2 separate regions of the Homo sapiens genome follow, and region 1 is linked to region 2. Evidence: promoter capture Hi-C in 16 types of primary human blood cells and fetal thymus (Javierre and others, 2016). All regions are on one chromosome and are shown on one strand. Each heading gives the region's core, a stretch centred on a gene start or on the middle of the fragment in contact. The rest is flanking DNA. Distances are from core to core; before and after follow the strand shown.

What was found. Contacts are between HindIII fragments. The CHiCAGO score rates a contact against its expected background, and 5 or more counts as called.
Region 1: a contact is called between a fragment that was not itself captured here and the fragment with the promoter of MAP3K1 in region 2, in 1 of 17 cell types (fetal thymus). The highest score is 5.6, in fetal thymus.

What each region holds. Positions count from the first base shown.
Region 1 is chr5:55,710,094-55,712,793 of GRCh38, reverse strand. It overlaps SLC38A9 (solute carrier family 38 member 9), which reads left to right and starts at 470. Exons shown (of 16, transcript NM_173514.4): 1 at 470-577; 2 at 1,295-1,342. RefSeq lists enhancers at 1-207, 43-232, 323-372, 943-1,022. The HindIII fragment of the contact is 3,721 bases long and covers 1-2,700 here.
Region 2 is chr5:56,814,162-56,816,861 of GRCh38, reverse strand. MAP3K1 (mitogen-activated protein kinase kinase kinase 1) reads right to left here and starts at 1,313. Exons shown (of 20, transcript NM_005921.2): 1 at 807-1,313. The coding sequence starts at 1,288. RefSeq lists silencers at 216-455, 636-755, 826-1,595 and enhancers at 1-504, 1,956-2,085. The HindIII fragment of the contact is 8,983 bases long and covers 1-2,700 here.

The sequences.
Region 1 (2,700 bases), core at 133-2,632, 1.1 Mb after region 2:
TCTAGACGACGGAGGGAGCATGCCAACTCAACAGTTTTTTCAAACCAGCTTCCCTTTGTGTCTGTAGGGTCCAAGGACGTAACCAGATCATACAACACGCGCCAGGAAAGCCCAAAAGAGGGGTGATCCCTCGATGGAGGTGCCGCATCAGCGTTTTCTCACGTGGCCTCCGGGGCTCTATGAATGGCAAGAGATTGCATTCCTTCTACTACCCCTCCCAGCCTCCAGCCGGGACAAGGAACTGGAGCAAACTCGGGGCTGCAGTTCCGACTGGACTCGCCCACCTGGGCGCGCCGGCTGCCCAGCCTCCTGAAGCCTCGGGGCTGGGCCCTGCGGTGATGGGCGTGCTGGCCGTCGCAGAGCCCTCTGGGAGTTGTAGTCCGTAGCGGCGAGAGGTTTGACAGCGACCGCGGGCTTGGCGCATTCAGAACTCCAACTCCCGCCGGCCCCTGCGACCCAGGCTATTGCCGCTTCCTGTTTGGACTAGGAGCCCCGCGGTCGCAAATTGCGAGAATTTGGGAAGGGAATCTTTATCTTCTCGTCTAGTTCTCCGAGGTTGAAGGCTCGGCCTGCTCAGGTAGATCACGTTCCCACGTCTAGCAAACTCGCCCCTCGGGGAGGTGGGAAGGTATCCGAGGGAAGGCGGCGGGAAGGGTTGAAGTTGGGGCGAAGCCGGCTGTCACCTGGGATAGTTCTTTGCAGCGCATCGGAACCGTCTCTTCTTTTGGGGCTCAGGGAGGCCATAGCCTGGAGCCGCGGAGACTGCTCCGGAGGCACGGCGCGCGCTCCTCAAGGGCTCAGGGAAAGAAAGTCAGGAGTCCCTCGGGGTCTGAGGAAATCCGAGTGTCTATGGGAGTCGGTGTCAGCTGGAGCCTTAGAGAAAAGATAGGGTTGGGGTAAATGAACACCCTGACCCTCGGGTGAGAGAAGGAGGGAGTAGGAGAATTGTGGGACTTGCAGGAATGGGAGCACCCTTCTTTCTCTCTCTTGAGATAGGGTCTTGCTCCGTCGCTTGGGCTTGAGTGAGGTGGCGCGATCACGGCTGGGAGCACCTTTCTCCATCCCGAGTTGGGGACATCTAGAGGGGGAACATGAGGGAGGAACCCCCTTTGGGCCTTGAGCTAGGACCACAGAGGGGGTGAGGGCCATGACTGGTAAGCCCTCGCCACGCTTTTCACACGACTCAGTTGTGAGAGTGAGTGTGTTGATAGTGGGTAGCTTGACATCTCAGCATAGTAAAGCTGGAAGAGGGGTTTGAGAGCAGCTAGTCAAGCGCATTCTCCTCATTTTACAGAGAAGGAAACTGAGGTCCACCGAGTTGGAGAAACCTACTCAACACCAGGTAACCATTTAATGGCAAACTCGACCAACACCTAATTGTCATGACTCCCAGGCAGTGTCTTATCCATTGCCGTGCTCTGTAGATGAGCACACTATAAGTTGTAAGTTGTACCTCCACCTTGTTTTCTTTTTTCTTTTCTTTTCTTTCTTTTTTTTTTTCAGACAAGAGTCTCGCTCTGTCGCCCAGGCTGGAGTGCAGTGGAGTGATCTCGGCTCACTGCAACCTCCGCCTCCCTGGTTCAAGCGATTCTCGTGCCTCACCCTCCTGAGTAGCTAGGATTACAGCTGCCCGCCACCACGCCCCGCTAATTTTTGTATTTTTAGTAGAAACGGGGTTTCACCATGTTGGCCAGGCTGGTCTTGAACTCCTGATCTCAAGTGATCCGCCTGCCTTGGCCTCCCAAAGTGCTGGGATTACAGGCGTGGGCCACTGCGCCCAGCCTCTTTTTTCTTTTTAATACCTTCAGACATGACAAAGATCTGACATATGTAGGATAGGCAGCTGCTGAGGAGAAAGATTTTTTAAAAACGTTTTGGCCAGGTGCCGTGGCTCACGCCTGTAATCCCAGCACTTTGGGAGGCTGAGGCAGGCAGATCACGAGGTCAAGAGATCAAGACTATCCTGGCCAATATGGTGAAACCCCGTCTCTACTAAAAAAAAATACCAAAATTAGCCAGGTGTGGTGGCACATGCCTGCAGTCCCAGCTACTCAGGAGGCTGAGGCAGGAGAATCGCTTGAACCCAGGAGGCGGAGGTTGCAGTGAGCTGAGATCGTGCCACCGCACTCCAGCCTGGTGACAGAGTGAGGCTCCGTCTCAAAAAAAACAAAAACAAAAACTAAACAAAAAAAGTTTCAATAGGTCAAAATTACCCATGTCCTAACTTGAGAAAAATCTCTCTGCCTCATAAACAACTACAAACTTCGTGTTAAGATAGAAGGTTCGGCGGATTGCGGTGGCTAACGCCTGTAATCCCAACACTTTTGGGAGGCTGAGGTGGGCGGATCATTTGAGGTTAGGAGTTCAAGACCAGCCTGGCGAACATGGTGAAACCCTGTCTCTACTAAAAATACAAAAATCAGCCAGGTGTGGTGGTATGCGTCTCATCTGTAATCCCAGCTACTTGGGATGCTGAGGCAGGAGAATTGCTTGAGCCCGGCAGGCGGAGGTTGCAGTGAGCCAAGACTGCACCACTGCACTCCAGCCTGAGCCACAGAGGGAGATCCTGTCTTAAAAAAAAAAAAAAAAAAGTTGTCACCTATATAGTTGCTTTGTTTCTAAGAAAATAAAATTTACCTTTCCTTCCCCTAGACTTCTGAGAACAGTTAGACTTAGATTCCTTTTCTTTTCTTTTTCTTT
Region 2 (2,700 bases), core at 64-2,563:
AACTCCAAACAGAAGTCACTCAAGTGACTTAGCAGTGCAGTTCGCATTCCCAGGAACACTCAAAGCCCCTTGGGGGCTGCAATTAGACAAACCGCACTTCCTAAAAGACTGCAAGCCTCCGCGAGTGTGCAGCCTCCCGCCGCACGGCTTTGACAGGCGTTACCGAGCCGTCCTCCTGGAGCCCTGCGGCCGGCGCTGGGGGCGCGCCGCCTGCGTCCGGGCCCAGCCCGCGGTATCTGCCTAGGGACTCGAGTCCCGGGCGGGCCGAGGGGCTCTGCCTGTCACGGCCGCTGGGACCTGCTACTTTCTCTTCGGTCCTCTCAGTCTCCCACCCGACCTCGGGCTTCTCACCCACCCCGCCCCTCTTCCGACCACCGCCCGCCTCAGGCTCGGGCCTCGCCCCCCAGTGCCTTTGCCCCGGGGACACCCGTCCGGGGGCGCCGCCGCAGGGCCGTGCCCCGCCCCCGGGCTCCTCGGAGAGCCCCGATTCCAGGAGTCCCACAAAGCCAGCCGTGGCCCCCTACACCTTTTCGCAACGGTTCCCCGCAGAGAGGCTCGCACGCCTGTCACATGTCTGCAAACAATAACAAACTCTTCCGCACGTCCCCGTCCGGTCCCCCAGGCTGGGTCCGGGGCGCCGCCCGACTCCGAAGGGGTCGGGGGGTGCTCAGGGGCGTAGGTCCCGGCGAGCGGCGCGTAGCCTCGCTGCGCTGAACCCCGGGACGCCGTGCATGGTGCCCGGGGTTCATTCATTGCCCTCTGCCCGCTCTCCAAGTCCCCGCCGCGACCCCGGCCGTGCTGCTCACCCGGCGGGGGCCGCTGCAGGAGACGGCTCGGCGGCGGGCGCCCGCTTCTCCCCGGGCTCGGCCGCTGCGGGACTCGAGGCGCCGCTGTCCGGCGCCGCCACCGACTCGGTAAGGTGGGCGCCGCCGCGGCTCGCGGCTCCGTGGGGCGGCGGCACCGCCACAGGCTGGAAGCCGGTCCCACTCCCCGCTGCGTCCGCGGGCTCCGGCGACGGGGAAGTCGAGGAGGCCGGCGGTGAGGCGGCAAGGAAGAGCGGCTGCTCAGGCAGCTGGTCCAGCTCCACACTCCGCACTTTGCGCAGCTGCCGCCGCCGCCAGTCCGCCCGCTCGCGGCCCCCGCTGCCCGCCTCCCGCAGCAGTCCCGCGGCAGCCGCGGGCGCGCTGCTCGCCTTGAGGGCTCCTCCGCCGCCGCCTGCCTCAGGGCTCGTAGCCCTGGCGCCCGGGAATCCCGACGACGAGGCGCGATTCCCCGCCGCCGCCGCCATTTTCTCTCGCGGGCTACATTCGCTCGGCCCCTGCGAGGGAGGGAGGGGGCGGGGAGAGCGCAGGGGGCGGGCACTGCGCCGCCAGCGTAAGGCCTCCTGCGCCAACTGCGTGAGCGCGGCCCGCCGGGCGCCTGGCCTGGACTGACCGACGGGCGGGCGCACTGGGTCCGGCCTGCGGCAGAGGTGTGGGTGGAGGGCGGCCCGGCGGCCGCAGGTGGGAGGGAGTGGGCTGTGCTCTCCGCCGGGCGAGAGGGCGGGCGGGCGAGGTGGACTGGGAGGCGGAGGGGGCGGGGGCGGAGGCGGAGGCGTGGGCTCCCGGGACTCTGCGCGCTGCACGCGCCGCGCCGCCAGGTAGTCCCGGCCGCACCGGCGACAGGAGGAGCCTTGGCGGCAGCGCTGCGCCGCTTCCTCTCGGCAATCTCGGCCCGGCACCGCGGAGCTCGCGGGAGGGGAGTTGCACCTTCCGAAAGAAAGAATTAGTTCCAACTTGGGTTTCTGGTGCTTGAAGGGGACGCAGGCGAGAGGGTTTACAGTCTGTCATTCCCACTGCCCTTTGCAGTGGGCGTCGGGGGACCCGGGCGTGGACCAGCCTCCCACCGACGCGCAGGTGGCGCCCGGGACCGTCGCCTGCTGCAAAGCGAAAGCAAGTCAACGTTCAGCAGACAGGCTGCCGCGGACCAGAAAAATAAAGTTTTGTTTGTGTTTTCTTTTGAAAAGAAAACATTCCTTCTCTATTGTCCCACCCCTGTCCCTGTGCTACAGATAACAAAACTTCAAAGTTTTCTGTAATACCTTACATCCTGAAGCTGCTGATTTGGGACAACTACCCCCTACCCTCACCAAGTCCCCACAGCCTCTGAGAAACCGTTGGGGCGAGGAAGGGAGGCGGGTGTCCCCGTCGATCTTTAGTTTTTCCTTGGCTGTCTTTGGGAAAGGCAGTCCCGTACAGAACCACATATAGCGCGTTTGGGGAGGGGACCAGCGCTGTGCCAGGAAGTGCTCGGTAATGTCACCCTCGGCCAGGTCCCGGCCCTCCCCGAATCCGATGCTTCTCGCCGCACGTCCTTCTTCCCTGCAGGGTCGGGCCACCGGCCGGGTTCCCTCTGTCCCCACTCCTGCAGGGCCTGGCTGCCCATCGCTGCGTTGTGAGTCCTCCTAGTCCCTGGACTCTACGTGAGAAGGTGCTTTGGGATGGAAAAAGCAACATTTACACGTTAATGATTTTTGACCTTTTGTCAACTGAGGAGAACTTCTGTGTTGCGTTTATTTCTTCCTTCCTTTCCTTTCCTCCAGCTGGTTTGTTTAGGATGGGGAATCTCCCAAAACCCAGGAGGAACGTCTATAGATTTACTTTGTGAAACATGATTAAGGAGGGGGGAGGTTGGGGTGGGGGGGTGCGGATTCTCACGGAG